Regions from separate parts of the Homo sapiens genome. Here all the other regions are linked to region 1. Evidence: promoter capture Hi-C in 16 types of primary human blood cells and fetal thymus (Javierre and others, 2016). All regions are on one chromosome and are shown on one strand. Each heading gives the region's core, a stretch centred on a gene start or on the middle of the fragment in contact. The rest is flanking DNA. Distances are from core to core; before and after follow the strand shown. Region 1 holds the start of SMUG1 (single-strand-selective monofunctional uracil-DNA glycosylase 1). Region 2 has its middle 22 kb from the start of ATP5MC2. Region 3 overlaps LOC105378250 (a long non-coding RNA gene). Region 4 overlaps LOC105378250 (a long non-coding RNA gene). Region 5 overlaps LOC105378250 (a long non-coding RNA gene). Region 6 has its middle 26 kb from the start of HOXC13. Region 7 has its middle 8.8 kb from the start of HOXC13.

Region 1 (3,384 bases), core at 283-2,782:
ACTGCTCACAGCTCCCTGAAGCTCCTACTGCACCCATTAAGTTTTTGTTGATAGGAGATCAGACAAGTCCTGGGAAGGGAATAGCATCCTTTTTCTCTCACTTCTTCCTGTTCTGGGGTTTATAGGTCTCCTTTTCTACCACTCACAGGGAGACCTTGCTTCTGTGATTAGAGCCTTGGCTGTGCTAAGGTGTGTGGAGATTGTGGGGTGGGAGGAATATAGAAGATAACTAACCTTAGGGGGTTCCCAGTCTAATGAAAGTTTTAGAGTCACGACACAGAACCAGACCCAGATAGAGCACAAGAACAAAACTAGGAATAGGACAGATTTGGACATAGATATTGGGATGGGGGAATGGTGGGGGAATGGACTGTTAGGTGCAGCCATGGGATGAGGATTGATCAGGGAAGCCTTCCTGGACAAAGTATTTGAGGGAGAAGATTTGGATGGAAGAGTGATAGCTAACTTTATGTGTCTACTTGAGTGGTCTAAGGGACACCCAGATAGCTGGTAAAACATTATTTCTGGATATGTCTGTGGAGTGTTTCTGGAAGAGATTTGCATTTGAATTGGTAGACTAAGAAGATCACCCTCATTAATATGGGTGGGAACCATCCAATCCCTTGGGGGCCAGTAGAACAAAAGAGTGGAGGAAGGCAAATTCTCTTTCTTCATGAGCTGGGACATCTATTTTACCTGCCTTTGGACATCATTGGAGTTCCTGGTTCTTCGTCCTTCAGGCTCTGGGACTTAGCAGTGAGCCTCCTCCCCTGCTTTGGACTTTCCTGAATTATACCACCTGTTTTCCTGGTTCTCCAGTGTATAGACAGCAGAGCGGGAGACTGTGGGACTTCTTGGCCTCCACAATCCTGTGAGCCAATTCTTGGAATAAATCTCGTCATATAGATAGATATCCTGTTAGTTCTGTTCTCTGGAAAACTCTTGACTAATACTGAGGTTATAGGGTTGGGCAGATAGCAAGGCAGAGAAAGAAGTCAAAATGGTGACACTCTGGAGATGGGCTTGGACAGTAATGGGGGATGCCCCTTGCTAAAAAGTTGTTAGGAGCTACCAGAAATGTCTTCGTGGATGTTCTGTATAAGTAATGGCAGGCTGCAAAGGAGAAGTCTCTTATACCCACGGTGGCAGGGGGCCTAGCAATGGTCTTTAGCTATTGTTAATACCTTCAGGTGGGTGAGGGATTGGGGATGGTTGAAGCTTCCTGATTTGCAATCCCTTTGGGAAAATAGTGAATGAACTTTTGGAAGGGCGATGCCCTTTAGGGATAGAACCCAGGATTTCCTAGGTACTTACAGGCTGTGGCTTTTCACTTCTCAAGACTTCCTGATTTAACGCTGATGGAAAGATTAAACTACAATTCCCAGCGATCTTTAGGGCTAATTTAGTGCGCCTTCCGGGATTGGAGCATTTCCGGCGGAAGTGGCTGCGGGTACGCCAATCTCCTTCCCTAAACAATGTAGACTACGACTCCCACTGTCCTTAGCGCCGGGGGTTGGGTTTGGGGTGGGGGAAAGGAACCGGAAACGGGATGGGGAGCTGGACCAGGTGAGGAAGTAGGGGGCTGGGAATCCGGGACTGTGGGGGCAAGTTGACGGCTCCCAGGGTCGTCGGGGCTGAGCCGAGAGGGTGGTTAGAATTTCTATATTTTGGGGTCCCTCCCTCCGTATGGGGTAAGACTCAGTGCAGGGAGAGCCCAGCCTATGAAACCGCCTGGGAGGTCTGCAGGATCAAGGCTTTCCAGTCGGCCGGAGCCAGCGGGCGCCCCCGGAGGTTTTGTATGGTGCCTTAGTAGTCGGCCCCTTTGGAACCAGATGAAATGGTCTTTTTGAGTTTATGCTTTATTATTATTATTGTTTATTTATTTATTTTTCTGAGACGGAATTTTGCTCTGAATTCCAGGCTGGAGTGCAATGGCGCGATCTCAGCTCACTGCAGCCTCCGCCTCCCGGGTTCAAGCGATTCTTCTGCCTCAGCCTCCCGAGTAGGTGGGATTACAGGCGCGCGCCACCATGCCCAGCTAATTTTTGTATTTAGTAGAGACTGGGTTTCACCATGTTGGTCAGGCTGGTCTCGAAGTCCTGACCTCGTGATCCGCCCGCCTCGGCCTCCCAAAGTGCTCGGATTACGGGTGTGAGCCACCGCGCCCGGCCTATGCATTATTATTATTATTATTATTATTATTATTATTATTATTATTATTTATTATTATTATTATTATTATTATTATTTCGTTTAAGGATATTTATTATTGTCCCTGGACTCCCGGAGTGCCTCCAAAGGACAGGGGAGTGCATATGTGATTTCGATTCCTTCCTCACTTCCCGGATTTGATGTCAGAGAAGTCTGACATCAGTCTGAAGTCGGCCCTTGGTGGTCAGCCTTATCGCTTGGTCCAACTCCGCTGTCTTTGTGCTTAATGTAGTATGACACCGTATTTTATAAAATATCTACATTTCTTAAGCCTCTGGCTCTTGGGGCGACTTTGGGTAGAACTTACAAGTTCCTCCTTTGGGTTCTCTTAGTGTTTTGTTCCGGGTATTAAAGCTCACATCACACTGTATTACAGTTAGTTGTTTATTTGCCCTCACAGCAGATTATGAGCTTACAGAAAGCCTGGCCTACATTTTACTCTTTTTGGATTTCTTCCTCATCAAGAGACTGCTGCAGTGCCTGTCATGTAAGAGACTCATAAGTATTGAAAAAAAAAATGAGTTAACAGGTGGTAGGTTGGATGGAGTATGTGATTTTCCATAGAGAAGAGAGTTAAATGAGTTGCTCAAGAGAACCTTCTTAGAGATGAAACAGGAGTAGAATTCAAATCAATTGACTTCCAGCCTGTGGCTCTTGCTATGAGATCAGGCTTTGAAGTTATGGAACAATGAAAGTAGTATCTTGCCACTCTTTTCCCCAGCCTTGCTGTTTCCAACACAGGTGTCTAAATGTCAAAGGTGGGCTCAAGACTTCTCGAGATTCTAGAGCTGGAGCAGCCAATCTGCTAATGTTGGTGTTGCATGGGGAGATGCAAAGCAAGGTCCCCTGAAACACTGGCGTTCTCCACAGCACCCTTCTCAGCTTTTGTATGAGCCCAGTTTGTCCTGGGTAGCCACCTGGACAACAGATCAGTTAAAGACTACTGAGACAGTCAGGGAAGGACTTCCTAAGTTGGGCCTCTGATTTCTTTTCTCTCCCACTTCCCCTAGGCTAGGGTGAGAAAATAGGTTTATCGAGCTGTTGTGTCAACCTTGAGTTCTTATCTTGGAGAAGTCACTCCTGACCCAGGCAGAAAGTTGAGAGGAAGGAATGACAATGGTCCTTGTCGCATGGGAGGCACACATATGATGGGCACAGACCCAGAGTCTGGAA
Region 2 (3,384 bases), core at 349-2,848, 490 kb after region 1:
TCTGAACAAGGGTCTGGGGTCTTGGTGTCTAGCTTAGTACAGGGAAATCTGTATGCAGCTCCTCTGAGGATTTCAATATCTTCTGTGTGTACAGACTACCCGGGAGTTAGTTCTTCTGGCTCCAGGATCTTTGTGCAGGATCCCAGGTTTGTCTGTCCCCATCCTGCACACAAGTGTGTTGACATATCAAGACTCCTCCACCTCCTTGCTTTCCTGTGTGCATCACAGTGTGTGCAGATCCATTTGTCCAACCAGCCCCACGTGAAGCCATGTGTGTCCAGCAGTCCCTCCTCCCAAGGAGGACTCTGTGAAGAGTCCTTGGCACCCTCCCCTCCTGGCCACCCCCACTCCCCACTTTCCATGCCAGGAGAGATCTAATTACACAGAAATTAGTACAGAAAAGGATCGTTTCCTTTTATTGCATCAGTACCGGGGCAGCTATAAATCTGGAGCCACCGCTGCAGCCGCCTCTGGGCACTGTGCAGGCTATGGGGGGCTCTCACCTCCACACCTTCCTTTTCTCCTGGGCCTCTACCCCTGCCCAGGACCTGAGAACTCTATTAGGTACCCATCTCAGTAGGGGAAGTGGAGAAAGGGGAGGGTGGGGTCAATCAAAAGAAGACACATAGTAGATGCTTAATAAATGTTCACTAAATGATTAGGGAGAGGTAGATCCCAGCAATGATAGTAACTACCCGACTACCTAGACCCAATCACCACGAGATAAATATTTCTAGTAAAATTTCTCTCAAAATTCTTAAGCTCTTACCAGACAGACTTCCTCACTTTCTTATGAACCCAGATGAATTATATGGAGCTATTAGTCATCCTGGCTTCTACTTTAGAGACCCTGAACTCCTTCTCAGGCAGCTTCAGGTGATGAAGACAGTCCAGGTTCAGATCTTGATTCTTCTGTTTACCACCTAATTGTCCTTGGGTATCTCCCAACCTGAGCTTTGGTTTCTTCTTCTGTGAAATGGAGGACATGAAACCTACCTCTCAGGTTGTTGTGAGGCATCAATGGGAAAGCACAATTAGTCGGGTGTGGTGGCATGCACCTGTGGATGCAGCTGCTCCAGGGACTGAGGCAGGAGGATTGCTTAAGCCCAGGAGGTCAAGGCTGCAGTGAGCCCTGATCCAGCCTGGGCAACAGAGTGAGACTCTATCTCAAATAAAATAAAATAAAATAAAATAAAATAAAATAAAATAAAATAAAATAAAATAAAATAAAATAAAATAAAATGGGAAAGCAGTAGACCAACAGGAAGGGGGTCCACTAATTTTTATTATCACTCTTAATGTCTTCCTAGCTACCACTTCCACTTCACCACCTTTACTTCTGCCTCCTCTTCCCCATCACCCTTTAACCTAGCCTATATGCCAACCAACCCCCACTCAAATAGGGGGCAATAAGATATGCAGGCAGGCTGTGCCCAACCTGGAATGAATGTTTCTATATGTTAGTGTCTTATCAGAAGACAGAGATGAGGCCAGGTGCGGTGGCTCATGCCTGTAATCCCAGCACTGTGGGAGGTCAAGGTGGGTGGATCACTTGAGGTCGGGAGTTCCAGACCAGCCTGGTCAACATGGTGAAACTCCGTCTCTACTAAAAATACACACATGGTGAAACCCCATCTCTACTAAAAATACACACACACACACACACACACACACACACACACACACATTAGTCGGGCATGGCGGCATGCATCTGTAATCCCAGCTACTCCAGGGGCTGAGGCAGGAGAATCGCTTGAACCTGGGAGACGGAGGTTGCAGTGAGCCGAGATTGCGCCACTGCACTCCAGACTGGGCGACAGAGCGAGACTCCATCTCAAAAAAAAAGAAGGAGGAGGAGGAGAAGAGGAAGAAGAAGAAGGAGAAGAAGAAGAAGATGAGGAGGAGGAGGAGGAAGAAGAAGAAGGAGAAGAAGAAGAAGAAGAAGAAGAAGAAGAAGAAGAAGAAGAAGAAGAAGAAGAAGAAGAAGAAGAAGAAGGAAGAAGAACAAGAACAAGAACAAGAACAAGAAGAACAAGAAGAACAAGAAGAAGAACAAGAAGAAGACAACAGAGATGAGGACAGGGGACTCCAACCATCCTCGGGCATCTGGAGGCAGTGTTTTACACATAGCCAACTGTCTCTAAGCTCATTCCTTGGCAGTAACTATTTTGATCTCCATTATTTGCATGGAGGGTGTAAATTAGCTCCTTGGAGTACTGGAGGGTCTGGTTGTAAATGACTGTGTAGAAAGAGTCCAGGATTTAGGGAATTAGGAGGGAGCAGGAGCTGGGGAATCAGGGTGGAGACTGGAGGCTTGAACTTATCCCGGAGCAAGGTCAAAGGGCCCTTTAGGGGATCGCAGAGACAGAAACCAAATGTCCGGGCTCCCAACTTCCTGCCAACCCAGTTTTCCAAACCCAAGGATTTGGGGTCTCCTCCCTCTTGCCCTCTCCTACACTGATGTCTCCAGCCCAAGGCACTCAGCCAGGAATTCTTGAATTTACTCCTATGTGGATAACCCTGAAGAGCTCTCAGTGTAGGTCAGCAAGTGAAGAGCCAGAGAAAGGAAGGGGTGTAACCCCCCACCACCCCACTGTGCTCAGATCTCCAAGCACCATTTGGGCAGGACCCCCTGCTCCCACACTTCAAGGGCAGGAGGAGCCGCAGAAGGAAGCTGAGGCCCTACGTCTGTTTCCAGCCTCTCACCCCCGATCTGCGTCTCAGGGAGGGTGAGGATTTGGCGTGAAGGGCACAGCGGCGTGGGGGGCGCGGATCTCTGGCCCCCATCTCCCCCCATCCCCAGCCCCGACTCAGGCTGCAGTCTCTCCTCGTTGTAGCAGCGCGAGAGCAAAGGGACGGGCAGTAAAGATGAGTGATGGCGCGGAGACAAGCAGAAATACACCATCATGAAAATGCTAATGACTCCTTGCTCTCTTTCTTTATGGTTGGAGTAATACAGACTTCAATCATAAAAACAATCTCCCAACATTTTAATGGGCTCCATCATGCCCGCACTTGTCGGTATATTTGAAGAATAAATCACCCTCCCCGCTCGGAATGAATTCGCTGTCAAACTCGGCTCCCTCGGAGAAAATGGATGGGGAGAGAGGATGGAGGGTTTTTTTGGGGGGGGGGTCCTCTCCCCCTCTAACTCCCTCCTAAACTGGATTGTTTTGCGAGATGCCTGGATCTTGAAATGGAGGAGGGTCGGTAGGGAATTGAGGAAGCTGAGCCAGAAGGGAGGGTTTTGGCAAACCCGGGGCGGGACGGAGGAACTTCACACGGAGAGAAGCTGCCCCTTAGGTGGACGTGGAAGAAAGGGGCTAGAACACTGGCGGCATTGGAGGGAAGGGGCAAAATCTTGACCTTGAACCTAGAGAATGC
Region 3 (3,384 bases), core at 398-2,897, 430 kb after region 1:
GGGGAGGGAGTGAGACAAAGAGAGAGAAGGAGGCAAGTGTGGAGCAGGAGGAGGGAGTGAGGCCAGGGAGGGGGATATATATTTTCTTTATGATCCTCTTCAATCTCACTCAGCTCGCTGCTGAGCCGCTTCCCCTCTCAGGTGCTGCTCAGTGGCGGATGTGCTCAGAAAGCTGATATGCTGAGGCTCTCTCCCAGAGCCAACCTGGGGGGCTCGCAGAGACCCCTACATGGACATGACAACCCAACCTGCCTCCCTGTCCCCAAAAATGCTGCAGTCCAGAGAGGACTGAAGCCCAGCTCTTAATTTTTCAGAGCTAACGCAGCCTGGCACAACCAGTAGAAGGGGAAGTGGGGCAGAGGAGGAGGAGAAATAGAGGAAGGCAGGCAAGGGAGGCATGTTCTGGGGAGGGTGCTGGGGACAGTCTTTGGTCAGGGGTCAAGGGGAGAGGAGTAAAGAGAGGTAAGGACTGAGGAGAGATCTGCATTTGAGAATAAAATTAGCAGCATGCAAAGGATAAGGGAGATAAGACACCAGTGACGCCCAATTACTTTGGGGTCAACAATTTAGACACCTACTGAGAAGCCATGACCGATGCCTTCAAGCAACTCTCTACTAACAGACCCCACAAATATATACATGAAACCCATGAAAGGAGAAACTGAGGCATAGAGTAGAGATCCTGAGACCACTGAATGTGCATGAATCTAGGTTTTCAGGGACCACAGATAGAGTAACCAGCCAAGTTTCTGAAGACCTAAGACTTAGCATGACAACCTGGACCCTGCCTTTTTTCCCCAGGCTTTCTTGAGGCTGAGGAAGTAGCTGAGCTCTGCAAAGACCAGCTCCCCCAGCTCCTCTCACGGCCGGGGAAGACCCTAAGAACATTAACTCAGGCAATCTAAGGGGAAATTATCCCCACATCCACTCCTTCCCTGCCAGCCTCATGCAAGGTCCAAGAGGCCAGATGTCCCAGGATAGACAGAGCCTAAGGAGTCTCCTTAGCAGCAGGAATAACTTTATCACAGCTTATCTGGGCCTCCCAGAGGTAAATTGAAAGGCTGCGAGGAAACAACTGAGGTCCCTACCTATTCCTACACCCATCCCAAAGGGGTATGGGTAGAAGGCCAGGGGACAGAATCAGAAGGACTTCACAACCTAGGAGAAAAGGAGAAAAGCCGGTTCCCAGGCAACAGCTAGGTCAGTCAGTAGCTGAAAAGACCCCCAAGGCAGCTGTAGCTCTCTGTTCCTCGCCTGAGTCTCTCAAGCCTGCAACCGGGAAGCTCTGCAGTACCAGAGAGGGCCGCTAGGGAGTGCTCGCCAACAGCCAGGCTCCAGAAAGGAAGCAGCCGGCCAAGCCAAGAAGACCGGAAGGCAATCGATCAGAGTCGCCCTGGCAACCGGGCTGAGCCCGAGACAGACAGCACGTCGATAATGAAATCATCGTTAAATGACTTCAAGCCCTAATTAATAATCCAGGCCAACCGAGGCCATGCCTGACTGGGGTCGGGGGAGGGGATGTCATTGTTGGGGAGCACTGGAAGCTTCTGGACAATTAATCAATTAATCCACTCACTCAATAATTGGCTCCTTTGTCCTCTGCCATGCCCCTCCCCCACCTCATCCACCTCTGACTGTGGAGAGGGGAAGAAGAGATGTTGGGCTAATAGTTTCCAAGGGCCACAGTTCCTCCCTCTCCCCTCCTTTTTATCCACACATCTGTTTCCTGAGCCAGCTCACAAAAGCTTCCCTAAGTCAGGACTTGCCTGCGCTCTTCCACAGGACCTACCAAAGAGTGAACATTTCAGGACCCGGAGTCCCCTGCTATCCAGGTACCTCCCCAGATCCCCTGCTCCCTACCCCACTTCCTCCCATCTCATCCCCCCTCCCCAGTACACACACACACACACACACACACATCACTGACCCACAGCCCACTCTGACTCTGACTGAGGAAAGAGCACTAAACAGTGAATCATGAGAGTTAGCTAAATCCCAGCCACACCAGCTCACCACTTACATACATAACCTTGAGCAGGTTACCTGCCCTCTCCAAGGCCTCCATTTCCTCATCTGAAACCTGAAAGAGGCCAAGTGCAGTGGCTCACGTCTGTGATCCCAGCACTTTGGAAGGCTGAGGCAGGAGGATCGCCTGAGCCCAGGATTTCAAGGCCTAGCCTGAGCAACATAGCAAGACCCCCATCTCTATTTAAAATAAAATAAAACCTCAAGGGATCCAACTGATTTCCAAGGTTCCTTCCTGTGGTATCATCTATTATTACAATAATCAGATCTTTTCCCACTCCTCTCTACTCCGTTCTCTTACTTTGGGGAGGTAAGAGGGAGATTGTAAGGAGTTCCAGGTCCTCATTTATCAGGTGCTTCATCCCCAAAGAACTTACCTCGAGAGCCAGAAAAGGGGATGGTAGAAGAGTACATGGAGGGAAGGCTCCCCCAGCCCATCCCCCACCTGGCCGGTCCTTCTGGCCCTTGCCACCCACCTTGCTTATTGCTCTCCACAACCCCCAGCAGGAAATGAAAAGGCCACAGGAAATTGCGCTTTAAATCCCCTAGCTCCTGGTTCCCTCCACCAAGCCAGGGAGCTGGGGGCAGGCTAACTTCACAGACCAGGCTTTCTCTGTTTGTAATTAGTAAGACACTTAGGAGGAGAAAGGGGTCCCTGCAAAAAGAGCCCCTCTCTCCAAAACAGCTAATCAGGTTATCCAAAAAACTGGTGCTGGGGAAAGCATATGGGATTTGCAGAGAAGAAAGAACCAGAGGATCTTGGGCAAGATGAAGACAGCTGGTGAGACATGGACTGGATAGGTAGGTGGTAGCCTCCTTTCTGGGAGAGGTGATTTATAGCGCCACCTGAGGCCAGGAGAAATGGTGTGCAGCCAAAGGCTGGGATGGGCAAAGAGCGTAGAGAGGGGACCCTCCAGAGACGCCCTGCAGAGAGGACCAGGGAGCAAAACCCACCAGGTCCATCCCACCCCTGTGGACACTTAAGAGGTTAATAAAGTTCAGAATGTTCAGGGCTTACTGTAATTAAAGCCAGGAGCTGGGTCATTCCATTTCTTCAAGTTCCATCTTTTACTTTCCCCTCCCCGACATACACACATCTTTTACAAAAGACATTGAGCCAGATCCTGGACTTTAGATAATACCTCCACTAAAGAGGTGGGCTTACTGTCAGCAAAAGAAATGTAGAATAGACTTTAGAAAGGATTTCCTTTGAGTTAGGGTTGGTAAATGCTAGGGAAAATGAAATGATATAGAATCTCCAACAACACATTTCCTACCACACACACACACACACACACACACACACACACACCCCAAACAGGAAAAGGAAAGCCGTCTCTCAACTGCTATTCTTTTTCT
Region 4 (3,384 bases), core at 290-2,789, 420 kb after region 1:
TGGAGGCAATCAGAAATACAAGAGTAGAGGCTTTGTGTTCAAGGTGACCGCTTTAAATAATAATAACCATGGCGTACGCAGTGCACCAACAGCTCTAAATGCAAACAGTTCAAAACACGTAAGAAAAGGTAAACTGTATAAAAGCCATCATGAACACAGGGTCTGAGTTATATATCCAAGGTCTAGAAGAAATTAGTTAAGGCCAAACAAAAAACAGAATCTTCTCATATTCTCTTTCTGTGTGTGCCTTCTCTAGAAGTCTATGTCTAGTCATGGTCCCTTATTCATTCATTCAACAAATATTTACCGGTCCTCAACTATTCAGCACTGGGGATACAGCAATTAAAACACACACACAAAAAAATCCCTCCACTCAAGTCACTTACATTCCAGCAAGAAGAAGCAAACAACAACAAGTAGTAAGAATACATATTGTGTTAGGCCGGGCGCAGTGGCTCACGCCTGTAATCCCAGCACTTTGGGAGGCTGAGGCGGGTGGATCACGAGGTCAGGAGATCGAGACCATCCTGGCTAACACGGTGAAACCCTGTCTCTACTAAAAATACAAAAAAATTAGCCAGGTGTGGTGGCGGGCACCTGTAATCCCAGCTACTCGGGAGGCTGAGGTAGGAGAATGGCGTGAACCCAGGAGGCAGAGCTTGCGGTGAGCCGAGATCATGCCACTGCACTCCAGCCTGGGTGACAGAGCAAGACTCCATCTCAAAAAAAAAAAAAAAAACAGAATATATATTGTGTTAGATTGTGGTTTGTGCTGTAAAGTAAAGCAAGTAAAGGTTAGGATGTGATCAGGATGGGAGTTGAGATTTTAAAACAAGTGGTCCAAGAAGGCCTTGCTGAGATGACACTTCACCAGCAGCCAGGAGCAGGTGCAGGAAAAAGCAATGGTGCAGATCTCTGAGAAGTGCAAATATAAAGACTCTGGCCATTGTTTATAGTGGTAAAATGTACATAACATAAAATTTACCATTTTAACTGTTTTTAAATGTGGCATTAGGCCAGGCATGGTGGCTCACACCTGTAATCCCAGCACTTTGGGAGGCCAAGGCGGGCAGATCTTCTGAGACCAGGAGTTTGAGACCAGCAAACATGGCAAAACCTCATCTCTACAAAAAATAGAAAAATTAGCCAGATGTGGTGGCAAGCGCCTGTAATCCCAGCTACTCAGGAGGCTGAAGTGGGAGAATAACCTGAGCCTTGGGAGGTCAAGTCTGCAGTGAGCTGTGATCATGCCACTGCACTCCAGCCTGGTGACAGAGCAAGACCTTGTCTCTAAAAAAGTAAAAATAAAAGTATATAAGGCAGGGCGCAGTGACTCACGCTTGTAATCCCAGCACTTTGGGAGGCCAAGGCAAGTGGATCACAAGGTCAAGAGATTGAGACCATCCTGGCCAACATGGTAAAACCCCATCTTTACTAAAAATACAAAAATTAGCTGGGCGTGGTGGCAGGCACCTGTAGTCCCGGCTACTTGGGAGGCTGAGGCAGAAGAATTGCTTGAACCCAGGAGGCGGAGGTTGCAGTGAGGCAAGATCGTGCCACTGCACTCCAGCCTGGGCAACAGAGTGAGACTGCGTCTCATAAATAAATAAATGCAGCATTAAATACATTCACATGAGGGTCAATCATCGTCACCATCCACCTCCAAACCTTTGCCATCTTACCCAACTAAAACTCTGTGCCCATTAAACATTAAATTCCCATTCCCTCCTGCTCCCATTCCTTAGAAACCACCACTTTACTTTCTGTCTGTATGAATTTGACTATTCTGGGTACCTCATATAAATAGAATCATACAATATTTGTCTGCTTGTGTCTGGCTTATTTTATTTAGCATAACGTCTTCAAGAGTATCCGTGTTGTAGCGTGTATTAGAATTTTCTTCCTTTTTTAGAGTGACTAATATTTCTCTCTATGTATATACCACATTTTGTTTATCTGTTTGTTTGTCTATCTATCAATAGATGCTTGGGTTGCCTCTCCCTTTTGGCTATTCTGAATAATGTTACTATGAACGTGGGTGTACATATATCAATTTGAGTCCCTGCTTTCATTTCTTTTGGATATATTCCCAGAGGTGGAATTTCTGGGTCATATGGTAATTCTAAGTTTACTTTTTTAGGAATCACCAATTTACTGTTTTCCACGGTGGCTGCACCATTTTACTTGCCAACCAGCAGTACACAAAGGTTCCAATTTCTCCACATTCTCGCCAACACTTGCTATTTTCTGTTTTTTTAATAATAGCCATCCTGATGGGTGTGGAATGGCACCTGACCATCTTGGGCTGGCACAGAGTGAGATAGGAAGAAGTAGTCGGGGATGAGGTCAGAGAGAAATCAGGAGGCCGGATCATTCATGGCGGGCCATAGAGTCACTGTGAGGACTTTGACTTTCACACTGGGTATCATGGAAACCCTAGATGAAGTGGCAGTTTTGCATATTGGCTACTGATTGTCATGTTCTTTGAACTAAGTATTTGGTTCTCAAACTATGGAACAGGCCTCCTCCAGAGTTTAAAAATACAGCATAGAAATGGGTTCTGCAGAGTTCTCCACAGACATCTCATGGTTCTGACAAAAAAGTGAGAGCTAAACAAGCTGAGGCCCTCTCCCACCAGCCTCCCTCTCCAGATGCCATATACCCACCCATGGAAGAGTAACATGATGGATTACTTTCATCCAGATTGTTCACTTCATGGATTATCTTTAGCCAGGATTCAATCACTTAAAAAAAATAATAATCTTCGTCTCATTCACTATTTTGGATTATCTCCTCCATTTTTCTTGGTAACCAAGAGCCGATATGGAGATGAAGGATACTTTTTCCCAGAAACTGGTGAAATTAAGGACTGCAAAGACAAAGGCAGGTAGATTCTCAGAAAAGGGGCAGGAGCAATGTGAATCAGGCACTCACCAGCCTTGCAAAATTAAATAGATGAATTCAGTCCCAAGCCCTGGATGCCTCAGCAAGGATTGTCAGAAATGTCTGAGATGATCAGAGCTAGGGAGAGAAAGGGCCCCAAAGGGAAGCCTGAAAACACATTTTTGAGAGGCAGAGAGTACCTCTCATAACCTCACTTCCCCCAGGCAACAGGGATGAAAGCTTCTACATCAAAATGAGAAGTCCAAGGAGTTATAGATTTTCTCAACAATAAATAATCTGGAGAGAATGGCCTCCCAACCACCGTTTATAAATGCTAGAAAATACACACTTGTGTGTGGTGAGGGCAGGGGGGTGGAAAGTGGAGAAAGAGAGAATTATGGAGTTGTCCCCTCTGGGAGAGGAGGAGGGCCAGAAATCAATTTTCACTGTGGCATTCTTAGGATTCAAATGGGGGCTAGGAGAGGGAAGTATGGTCAAATC
Region 5 (3,384 bases), core at 515-3,014, 370 kb after region 1:
CACCCCACTGAGGAGCTGGGGGCAACATGGGGATAGGAGCCACCCTTTTCTCTGGGGAGTCCTCTGGTTCCTGGATTCTTGGGCAAGATACAAATGTGCAGGTACAATCCTAGATCAGAGCATAGTGGGCTCTGCAAAGGAATAAGAGGAGCAGCAAAGGAAGGAGCTCAGGCACAGGCTGAGGCAAGAGGTCTCAAAATGGTGTGAGAGGTAGGAGGAAATGAGATCAGGGTTACAGGCTGGGACAGCAGGCAGAGGAGGCGGGTTGGGGGGAGAGGTATTGCTGAATGGATGGGGGAGGCCAAGAGATGTCATCAGCTGTTGCGTGGGGGGAGCAATGATGCCAGAATGCAAGTTGTGGCAAGAAATGAACTGCCAGAGGTAGCGAATGATTGAATGGGAGTTTAGCCAGAGGGGGAGAGGGGCTTGGTCATCAATAATACCCTATGTTGAGATGCTACTGCTCCATTATAACTGGTTCATTCCCAGTGTAAGCAGACTACAAAAGAAAAAGGTTAGAGTGTGGCATGACAGGACTCTCCAAGACAACATTTGGCCATGTATGGGAGAAGCCCAACCATCTGAGAGAGTGGTGAGAGCTTTAAATCTCACTCATGACCTCTTTCCCTAGGAAAGTAATTTGAGGGCTCACTATCCCCTAGGAGTTCTAGCCCCTGGAATCTGCTTTGTCATCCAACTTCTTGGTCTGGCCTCATCCTATGTGCAGACCTCACTAACACAGGGAGCTCGTTTGACAGTTTAGCAAGAAGGACAGATCCTTGTGTCTAACCAAAGAAAAGTGCTTCTCTGTTGTTGTTGTTTTTTAAAAAAAACTATGTAGCTTCAAGAAGGACATACATGAAAAGGAGAGGGAGGTAGGGACTCCCATCTAGTCAGCCAGGTCAGCCTGGAAATGGATGAAGTGAGAGATGTCAGAACCACACTTAGCCCTCGCCCCAACATGGAGCAGCAGAAAACAAGGCCCAGGAGGAAGACAGAATGGACTCCAAACTAAATGAGTCGGTTGTGTGCCAACTATCAAGAAGTCCTTTGCTAGTCATGCACAGTGGCTCATATCTGTAATCCAAGCACTTTGGGAGGCCAAGGCAGGAGGACTGCTTGAGCCCGGCAGTTTGAGACCAGCCTGGGCAATATAGTGAGACCCTGTCTCTATAAAAAAATTAAAAATTTAGCCGAGTGTGGTGGCATGCACCTGTAGTCCCAGCTACTTGGGAGGCTAAGGTAGGAGAATTGCTTGAGCCTGGGAGGTAGAGGCTTCAGTGAGCCATGATCATACCACTGCACCCCAGCCTGGGTGACAGAGCAAGACCTTGTCTCAAATAAATAAATAAATAAATAAATAGAAGTAGAAGTCCTTTGTTAAGCTTAATTTCAGTACCTCCAGCTTTAACTTATCTCTTTTTCTCTTATTTGGAAGATGAGACTAGCAACTAATAATATTCTCCTTCATTTGGGAACCCAGGAATTCTAAGATAGGTTATCAAGCCCCTCAGCCCCCTCTGAACTCAGCCCTCTCCAGTACCCTTGCTGTACTCTTCTCAAGGCTACCAGGCTGGGCCATGTGAGGAATTTTGAAGACAAGAAACATCCTAAGGCTGGGCTAGGTGGCTCATGCCTATAATCCCAGCACTTCAGAAGGCCGAGCAGAAGGATTGCTTGAGGCCAAGAGTTCGAGACCAGCTTGGGCAACATGACAAAACCCCATCTCTACTAAAAATACAAAAAAATTAGCAAGCCTGGCCAACATGGCGAAACACTCTCTACAAAAAATACAAAAATTAGCTGGGCATGGTGGTGCATGCCTGTAGTCCCAGCTATTCAGGAGGCTGAAGTGGGAGGGTCACTTGAGCCCAGGAAGCAGAGGCTACAGTGAGCAGAGATCGTGCCACTGAACCCCAGCCTGGGCAACAGAGCAAGATCCTGTCTCTAACAAAACAGAACACAAAATATGTACCCATTACTCAATATCTTTGGAGGGTTCACCCTACAAAAACAACTTAACATGGGCAAATACTGCAGGCTGATCTCCCCTGTAATCCATGCCCAAGCAGAGAGGCCAAATACTAGACTCCTGCTTTAGGTTCACTAAACCTATCTGTGACAGGATGGACTGAAAGCTTTGATCTAAAGTGGCTCTAGGAGGCCAGGTGCAGTGGCTCATGCCTGTAATCCCAGCACTTTGGGAGGCCAAAGTGGGTGGATCACCTGAGGTTGAGAGTTAGAGACCAGCCTGGCCAACATGGTGAAACCCCGACTCTATTAAAAATATAAAAACTTAGGCAGCCGTGGTGGTACACACCTGTAATCCCACCTACTCGTGAGGCTGAGGCAGGAGGATCACTTGAACCCTGGAGGTGGAGGTTGCAGTGAGCCAAGATCATGCCACTGCACTCCAGCCTGGGTGACAGAGCAAGACTCCATCTCAAAAATTAATTAATTAATTTAATTTAATAAAAATAAAGTGACTCTAGGAGACTTAAGAAAGGACACCTCTCCTGGAGGGACAGTTACAGGGTCACTAGAAAGAGTGGGACTGACCTCCATCAGCATATCCCCAAACAGTAGTGCTGAAAAGTCCTCTACCTTCAGCTTCCTCCCAAACATCGAACCCCCTAAAATGGGATAAGAAATCGTCACAACCATAATGCAGGATAAATCTCTCTATATGTTCCTACTTCAACCCCAAATTGTTAATTCCTAAACTCTGTGAACACTGGCACTGAAAAAGAATGGCTAAAATCTACTTGGTTCTGAAACGTATTATATGAAGCTTTGGTACAATATTCACCTGTTATATTTAGGCAGACATCAGATTGCTTTTCCTTAACACATGCTTGTTTAGAGCTGTGGAGGAGAAGCAAGCCTAAGGTTACAAATCCCCAGCAAAGATGTCACAGAATGGAAAAAGAAATAATTGACCATTTTGAAACAGCCCATTTCCTACCAGATTCTCACAGTGACTATGCACGGAGAAACCTGGACCTGCCACCATCCACCAGGGGCCAAGGCAGCCAGCAGTCCTTCCCGATAGCAAACACAGGGGCTGGGAGAAAGGAGGTATTATTTCCAGCCACTGCAGGCTTTCAGGACACAGAAGGGTCTATCCTCATAACGTTAGTAGCAGTGGAATCAATTCTATCCTTAAATCTGTTTTCAATTTGACTAATTTATTGAAGAAGGAGGCAATCAGGGCAGACACAGTGGAAATCTTCCTGATAGGAATGTGGGCCTATTAACCTCCAGGATCTCTTAGACTGATTGGTTTTAATACAAGCACAGAATCTGTTCTCTTTTGCAAGCTAGATTATAGGTGAGTCTGTCCTGAGGCAATGGGATTGGCAAAAAGACTCTCCTGCTTCCTCA
Region 6 (3,384 bases), core at 662-3,161, 280 kb after region 1:
GCTCACTGCAACCTCCACCTCCCGGGTTCAAGTGATTCTGCCACCTCAGCCTCCTGAGTAGCTGAGATTACAGGCACGTGCCACGACACCCAGCTAATTTTTTTGTATCTTTAGTAGAGAGGGTTTCACTATATGGGCCAGGCTGATCTTGAACTCCTGACCTCAGGTGATCCGCCCGCCTCAGCCTCCCAACGTGCTGGGATTACAGCCCTGAGCCACTGCGCCTGGCCAGAATAGATGCTATAATATGAGATAAAATTGACTTTAAGATACCTAAAGGGCCAAGTGCGGAGGCTCATGCCTGTAATCCCAGCTGACACTATGGAATGGTAGAATGGTCTAATGAAGAGAGTTACACAGCCAGCTGGAAGACAACACCTTGTGAGGCTGGGGTGCCGTCTTACAAGACCGAGTGTGTGAGCCATATTTGACTCCTGCTCTTTTTAGCCTTTCCAACAACTCTGTAAGCATCAGATTCCCTGTAGTAAATTCCTTTCTGCTTGAAATATCTAGAGTTGTTCTTGCACTAAGCCCTGACTGAATCATGTAATGATTAAGACAGTGTAGTATTTGCACAGACCCTGTTCTAAGTTATAACTTCTCATTTAGACTATAGCAATAAACCCTTAACCAGTCTTCTTGCTTCCATTTTTGCCTCCTGGATATTATGATAGCAGTGATAATGAATCTTTGATAGTCAAATTGACCAACTTAAAAGAATAGAGAACCCAGAAAACAGATCTGTGCTGTTTAAATCTGATATCTGACATTTCAAACCAGTGAGGGAAAGCCTACTCATGGGCACAGGGAGGGGAGAGTTCAATCTTTTTCTCTCACTATATAAAAAAATTAATTCCAAATGGATTAAAGACCTAAACATGAAAAAGCAAAAGCAGGCCAGGCGCGGTGGCTCACACCTGTAATCCCAGCAATTTGGGAGGCCCAGGTGGGTGGATCACCTGAGGTCTGCAGTTCGAGACCACCCTGGTCAACATGGTGAAATTCCATCTCTACTAAAAATACAAAAATTAGCTGGGCATGGTAGCAGGCACCTGTAATCCCAGCTACTAGGGAGGCTGAGGCAGGAGAATTGCTTATGCCCGGGAGGTGGAGGTTGCAGTTAGCTGAGATTGCATTATTGCACTCCAGCTTAGGCAACAAGAGTGAAACTCCGTCAAATGAAAAAAAAAAAAAAGAAAGAAAGAAGGAAGGAAGGAAGGAAGGAAGGAAAAGCACAGAACCTTTAGAGGAAAATATATGAGAATTTAAGGCAAGAAACATTATGCTAGTGACTTTCAAATTTACATCTCTATCTATTCCCTAAACTCCACACTCATATATTCAACATTCAGTTCAGAATTTCAACTTGGCTGGCTGGGCAAGGTGGCTCACACCTGTAACCCCAGCACTTTGGGTGGCCAAGGCAGGGGGATCACTTGAGGGCAGGAGTTCAAGACTAGCCTGGGTAACAAAGCAAAACCCCTTCTCTACCAAAAAAAAAAAAAAAAAGTTTCAAATTAGACCTCTAATAGGCATCTCAAAATTAGCATGATCAAAAACAAAGTATGCATTTTACCACCAAAACTTCTCCTCCTGCAACGTTCCCATTTAAGAAAATAGTGCTAACATCCTCATCAAATCCATTGGAAAATCTTACTAGGTCTAACTTCAAAATATATTGTGCATTTTTTCATCTATCTATTGGCCATTTATATGTCTTCTTTTGAGAAATGTCTATTCATGTCCTTTGCTTTTTTTTAATAGAGTTTTTAATTTTCTTATTATTGAGTAGTTTGAGTAGTTTGTTTTCTTATTATTGAGTTCCTTATATATTTTGGATATAAGCCCCCATCTGATATATGATTGGCAAATATTTTCTCCCAATCTATGAGTTGCCTCTTCACTGTGTTAATTGGTTCCTTTATTGTACAGAAACTTTTAAGTTTGATGCAATCCCATTTGTCTGTTTTTGTTTTTGTTGCCTGTGCTTTTGGGGTCATGTTGTATAGTGTGAATCTGACCACTTCTCACAATTTTCTCTGCTACTGCCCTGGTCTAAGTCACTATCGCCTTTCATTTAGACTATAGCAATAAACTCTTAACCCATCTACATGCTTCCGTTTTTGCCTCCTGGATGTTATGATAGTGGTCATAATGAACATGTGAAAAGTAAATCAATTCCCTGCTTAACATCCTCCAGTGGCTTCTCATCACAGAATAAAATCCCTGGTTACTTCTCTAAGTAAGCACTTACCGCTCTTCCCCTTATGTATGCCAGTTAGCTACACTAGCCATTTTCTCGACTGTTCTATAACCCATCAATCACGCCAACATCTTAGGGCCTTTGGACTTGCTGTTTCCCCTGCCTGGAATGTTCTTCTCTTTAGATATTCCCATTTCTTGCTCCCTCATCATATTCTGTTTTCTGCTGAATGTTACCTTCTCAGGGAGGCCTTTCCTGACCACTCTAACAGAGCAGCCCATTGGTTTCTCTTTATCTCTGTATCTTACTTTCTCTTCATGTTTTATTTTCTATTTATCTATTGTTTATTGTCTCTCTCCCACACTAGAATCTAAGTCATTAAGGTTGGGTCTTTTGTCTTACTCACAGTTGTTTCTGCCAAGCCTAGAACAGTACCTGGCACAAAGTACGCATTCAGTATATTTGTCAAATAAATAAGCAAATGAGGGAATAAATGAGAAACCTGTATGACCTTGGAATAGGAAATATTTGCCTAAACACGACACAGAAAACAAAATCATAAGGAAAAGTTTGAAAAAATTTGATAAAATTAGATTAAATACTCTTCATTCTTTTAAAAACACCATTAACTATCACTGCTATATAAGTTGCAGACTGGCAGAAGGTATTTACAATGCAGATATTAGACAAAGTATTAACATTCAAGATATGTGAAGGACTCTAAAAATCAATAAGAAAAAGACAATTCAATTTAAAAAAATAATGAGCAGGCCAGGTGCGGTGGCTCATGCCTGTAATCCCAGCACTTTGGGAGGCCAAGGTGGGAGGACTGCTTGAGCCCAGGAGTTCAAGATAAGCCTAGGCAGCATGGTGAAACCCCTTCTCTGCAAAAAGTGCAAAAATTAGCTGGGCATGGTGGCACGTGGCTGTGGTCCCAGCTACTGGGGAGGCTGGGGCAGAAGGATCACTTGAGCCTGGGAGTTTGAGGCTGCAGTGAGCTGAGATCACACCACTACACTCCAGCAACAGAGTGAGATCCTGTTTCAAAAAAAAAAAAAGAGCAAAGGATATGAACAGGAAAGTCACAGAGGAGAGGAAATCTAAAAGGCTACTAAAATATGAAAAGATGTTCAACTCTCAGAAAATCAGAAAAACACATGTTAAAAATGGGAATAATGCCA
Region 7 (3,384 bases), core at 235-2,734, 260 kb after region 1:
AATGAATTTCCCTCCAAAGAAGAAATACAGATTTATTCCTCTTATCTATTATAGACTTATTTCTAGACAAGAAAGTATGTAATACATGTTTTGTTTGGTGTTATAGGAACTTCAGATAAATATTAACATAAGAAATGTGTCCTCAGATACCCATATCCATATAATTAGGATTACCTTATTATCCATATAACAATCTTACAATTTTTAAAAAATAATATATTCTTTGAATATGACAACATAGTTATGTTTAATGAAAAAGCTTAAAGGCTTTAATTGTGTTTATGCTCATGCTGAGATGGGGGGAGGCTTGACCAACGTATAGTTCTGTGGGTAAAGATGTGTATTAGTACAGATGCTTTGTTAATGCATTTCCATTCATGTTGTTTTCTAATGCAGTCAGCCATTAAACGGAAATGGTATGTAGGTATATGTAAGTGCAGAGATGCTTTTTAGAGTTGTATTTTTAATAGATAATAAAAACACCATGTCTAAGAGAATAAAAACACCATGTCTTTGCTGTTGCTCCCAGACAATTCTCTGGGAGAATTTTTCTCTTAGGCATCATTTAGCGGCATTGTGCTCCTGAAGCCAACTTGCCGTCTCGCCAAACTTGGCAGGACGGGGGCGTTGGCTCTGTTCTTTCAGCGCAATTTTCTTCCACGGATTTTGGGATTCGGGTCGTTTCCGGCGCCTGGATGGCGATTCCGCTCAGCCTGAGGAGTCACCGCCGCCTGGCTCCGCCAGGAACTCGGCGCCAGCATCTAACTCCTTCTCTTCCTTTTCCTGTGGATTTCTCCCACGACAGAGAGTTCCTTAGTTTATTTTAATATGCTGGTTTTAAAATTTTACATATAGTAATTGTTTAGTATTTTATTTCACTAACCCAGACCAAGTTTCTTGGCGAAAGCCCTTCCCCACAAGACAATAAATGGCCGACCGGAGAGCGGCAGGATGAGTGCCCGCACTAGGAAGCGCCCGCGACACTACCTGGCGCCAGAGCAGGTCCAGTGGGGCAGGCATAGTCACACACGCAATCCTGACTGATGCCCTGTGTGCACGTTATGTGCACCTATTGCTGAGCACACAGGTGGGTACATTTATTTGTGGGGGTAGGAGAGACTCAAGTAAGTTCCTGGAGAGCTCTGAGTGTGTGGGTAGACAGCGGACTCACCCTAGGGCCTGGGCATTCATGAGCATGCTTGTGTGAACCAAGAATCAGCCTTCCCTTTCTTCTCCCCTCACAGGTCCCTGTGGAAAGGGGTCCTCCCAAATGGGGAAACAAAGGAATAAAAAGACTATTTTCTGTGGTTTATGCCCAGTTTTGGGGTAGGAAAGTGTGACAAAGATAATCATACACCTATAAAGATTTGTCAAAGAAGGTTGAGTGAATCTCGGGCTCAAAAAGAAATGTGGGGAAGTAGGAGGTGGTGGGCAAGGGCTGGGAACCAAAGGGAAAGAAACCATGATAATAGACTTCTGAAAAGCTGGTTAATCTTAGCTGGAATAACGGCAAAGGAAGAAAGCAAACTATTCAGCTCTCAGGAATCTTATTATTAATTTTGATGTGGCTGTGTATTTGTTGTCATTTGCTGAATATAATACATATGAAATGGCATGGTTATGTCTTATACAGAAGCCTACAATGACAACATGCACTCACAGTTGGTCATGTTTCAAATCTACTTCTAAACTTGGTGCACTGGGGTCTACAAATTTCCTATTTTAAGTCTTATCTTTAAAATGCTCTGTACTTTAAGTAGTAGGGGCAAGGTCATAAACAGTGGTGAATTTTTCCTTCCAAATATTACCAATAAGAAAAGCGGATTCACTACCTTTCAAAGTTTAGCCTCACCCTCACCCTTGAAAAAAGTTTCCCAAATGTGGTTAATCCTGGGAAGAAGAAAGCCCAACCAACCCTCTCCCCGTCAAACATGACTGCTCCTTGATCCTTGATGACTTGATCCTTCAGGATGTCTAGCTCTGAGTTCAGCCTTTAGGAAAGTGAGTTCTTTGCAAGGTCCGGAGACACCCACTGCAGTCTCCTGGCTTCTCTGGGCTCACTCCTCAGGCTGTGAAGCCAACAGGGGATCTCAGATGCTCTGCCAGTACACCTGGAAGACAAATCTGAATTTGCAGTTTCAAGTCGAGTTTCCACCTGAAGGCTATGTGGGTGATGCCCCAACTTCACTTTGCAAGTGCATATTCAGCTTAAAAACTATGTGGAGGAGACTGGTCCTACCCAGCTATGATCTTCTTGGAAAAAAACAAAGAACAAACAAACAAAATGGAGCCCAAATATTCTTTCTGCCAAGAAATAAAATTTTTCATAGACACAAGTAGAAACCCATGTTTGTTCCCTCTTCTCTCTCTCTCATGTATATACACACATATATACACACACACATATATGCATTTTGGTGACTTGATCTAACTCTACATTTTATCACAACAGATACAATATCTTCCAGGAAATAATGCCCAGGAAGGCAACTCTATCTTTCTACACAAGGAAAAATGCACAGAAGACCCATTTCACCATCTTGGAGCGCTGTTCTCTATTAGATTTTCCTTGTTTCTCTCTCTTTTTACTGTCCAGCGATGATGAGTCTCCACAAACAATCAGAATTTGCATTTTCCTGAATTATTCAAATAATCGAAAGGTGAGTGACGGGAGGAGGACTTATCTGAATTATTCGATAATTAAGCTTTCAGGATTTTTATTTTATTTTATTTTATTTTTTATAATGCAGGATTAGCGTTATTCCCTATCCCCAACCTCAGGGAGAACCTTGAGGCTGTAAACCCGCCTCACACAGTGGAGCCTGGAGAATGGGGTCCATGCTATTTGAACAGGGAACATGTTTGTAATAACTTCAAAATCTACCTTGGTTACAAATACCTAGGACAGTAAGGAACATCCCCACCCGCCGCACCTCCCTCTCCAACATTTCTTCAACCTTTACTTGGTAGCTTCAGCATCAAGTATCAAAATCTGTGGGGGAGAGTACTCTTTCTCCATGTCGAAAGGCACCTCTTCTTGCACTCCCTGACCTAGCCAGCTCTAACCTGCGGGCTTATTCTGGGGGAGCTTCAGAGGAAAAGCCGGGGATGAGGGTCTTAATCTCGCTCTAGATCTTTACTTGCAGAGAGATGAGTTACATTGTTTAATTTTCTTCTCTACCTGGGCCGTTCAAAGAGCTCAGGAATATTGTCTTGTCTAATTCCCCGGAGGCTTCGTATTCTGCCCCTGCAAACTGACGACCTCCTCCAGCAGAAATCAGGCGGAGGGAATGGCAGGAGCTGCGTGGGGGAGTTCTTGGCGGAGGACTTGTCTTCTCCTTCCCACCCCACAGCTGCGTAGGCTCGACTGGCGCGTGGGGGCTC

The links. Contacts are between HindIII fragments. The CHiCAGO score rates a contact against its expected background, and 5 or more counts as called.
Region 2: a fragment that was not itself captured here is called in contact with the fragment with the promoter of SMUG1 in region 1 in 6 of 17 cell types (naive B cells, naive CD4 T cells, total B cells and 3 more); the score reaches 7.8 in naive B cells.
Region 3: a contact is called between a fragment that was not itself captured here and the fragment with the promoter of SMUG1 in region 1, in 12 of 17 cell types (total CD8 T cells, endothelial precursors, M1 macrophages and 9 more). The highest score is 11.8, in total CD8 T cells.
Region 4: a contact is called between a fragment that was not itself captured here and the fragment with the promoter of SMUG1 in region 1, in 3 of 17 cell types (endothelial precursors, M2 macrophages and M1 macrophages). The highest score is 12.1, in endothelial precursors.
Region 5: a contact is called between a fragment that was not itself captured here and the fragment with the promoter of SMUG1 in region 1, in 1 of 17 cell types (erythroblasts). The highest score is 5.1, in erythroblasts.
Region 6: a contact is called between a fragment that was not itself captured here and the fragment with the promoter of SMUG1 in region 1, in 2 of 17 cell types (naive B cells and total B cells). The highest score is 6.0, in naive B cells.
Region 7: a contact is called between a fragment that was not itself captured here and the fragment with the promoter of SMUG1 in region 1, in 9 of 17 cell types (naive B cells, total B cells, naive CD4 T cells and 6 more). The highest score is 13.7, in naive B cells.

Annotation. Positions count from the first base shown.
Region 1 is chr12:54,187,133-54,190,516 of GRCh38, reverse strand. SMUG1 (single-strand-selective monofunctional uracil-DNA glycosylase 1) reads left to right here and starts at 1,532. Exons shown (of 4, transcript NM_001243787.2): 1 at 1,532-1,566; 2 at 2,615-2,698. It overlaps LOC105369777 (a long non-coding RNA gene), which reads right to left and starts at 1,420. Exons shown (of 3, transcript XR_944984.2): 1 at 1,315-1,420; 2 at 1-69. The HindIII fragment of the contact is 2,636 bases long and covers 1,221-3,384 here.
Region 2 is chr12:53,696,764-53,700,147 of GRCh38, reverse strand. No RefSeq gene overlaps it. Among named protein-coding and RNA genes, the nearest start is that of ATP5MC2, 22 kb to the right of the region's middle. The HindIII fragment of the contact is 7,437 bases long and covers 1-3,384 here.
Region 3 is chr12:53,755,262-53,758,645 of GRCh38, reverse strand. All of the region lies in intron 1 of LOC105378250 (a long non-coding RNA gene), which reads right to left. It also overlaps a transcript of CISTR not described here. Among named protein-coding and RNA genes, the nearest start is that of CISTR, 5.0 kb to the right of the region's middle. RefSeq lists an enhancer at 1,203-1,252. The HindIII fragment of the contact is 201 bases long and covers 1,547-1,747 here.
Region 4 is chr12:53,771,923-53,775,306 of GRCh38, reverse strand. All of the region lies in intron 1 of LOC105378250 (a long non-coding RNA gene), which reads right to left. Among named protein-coding and RNA genes, the nearest start is that of CISTR, 22 kb to the right of the region's middle. The HindIII fragment of the contact is 3,173 bases long and covers 1-3,125 here.
Region 5 is chr12:53,813,758-53,817,141 of GRCh38, reverse strand. The region is part of intron 1 of LOC105378250 (a long non-coding RNA gene); the gene reads right to left. It also overlaps the pseudogene RN7SKP289. Among named protein-coding and RNA genes, the nearest start is that of CISTR, 63 kb to the right of the region's middle. The HindIII fragment of the contact is 753 bases long and covers 1,388-2,140 here.
Region 6 is chr12:53,910,765-53,914,148 of GRCh38, reverse strand. No RefSeq gene overlaps it. Among named protein-coding and RNA genes, the nearest start is that of HOXC13, 26 kb to the left of the region's middle. The HindIII fragment of the contact is 5,776 bases long and covers 1-3,384 here.
Region 7 is chr12:53,928,354-53,931,737 of GRCh38, reverse strand. No RefSeq gene overlaps it. Among named protein-coding and RNA genes, the nearest start is that of HOXC13, 8.8 kb to the left of the region's middle. RefSeq lists an enhancer at 2,898-3,384. The HindIII fragment of the contact is 2,446 bases long and covers 262-2,707 here.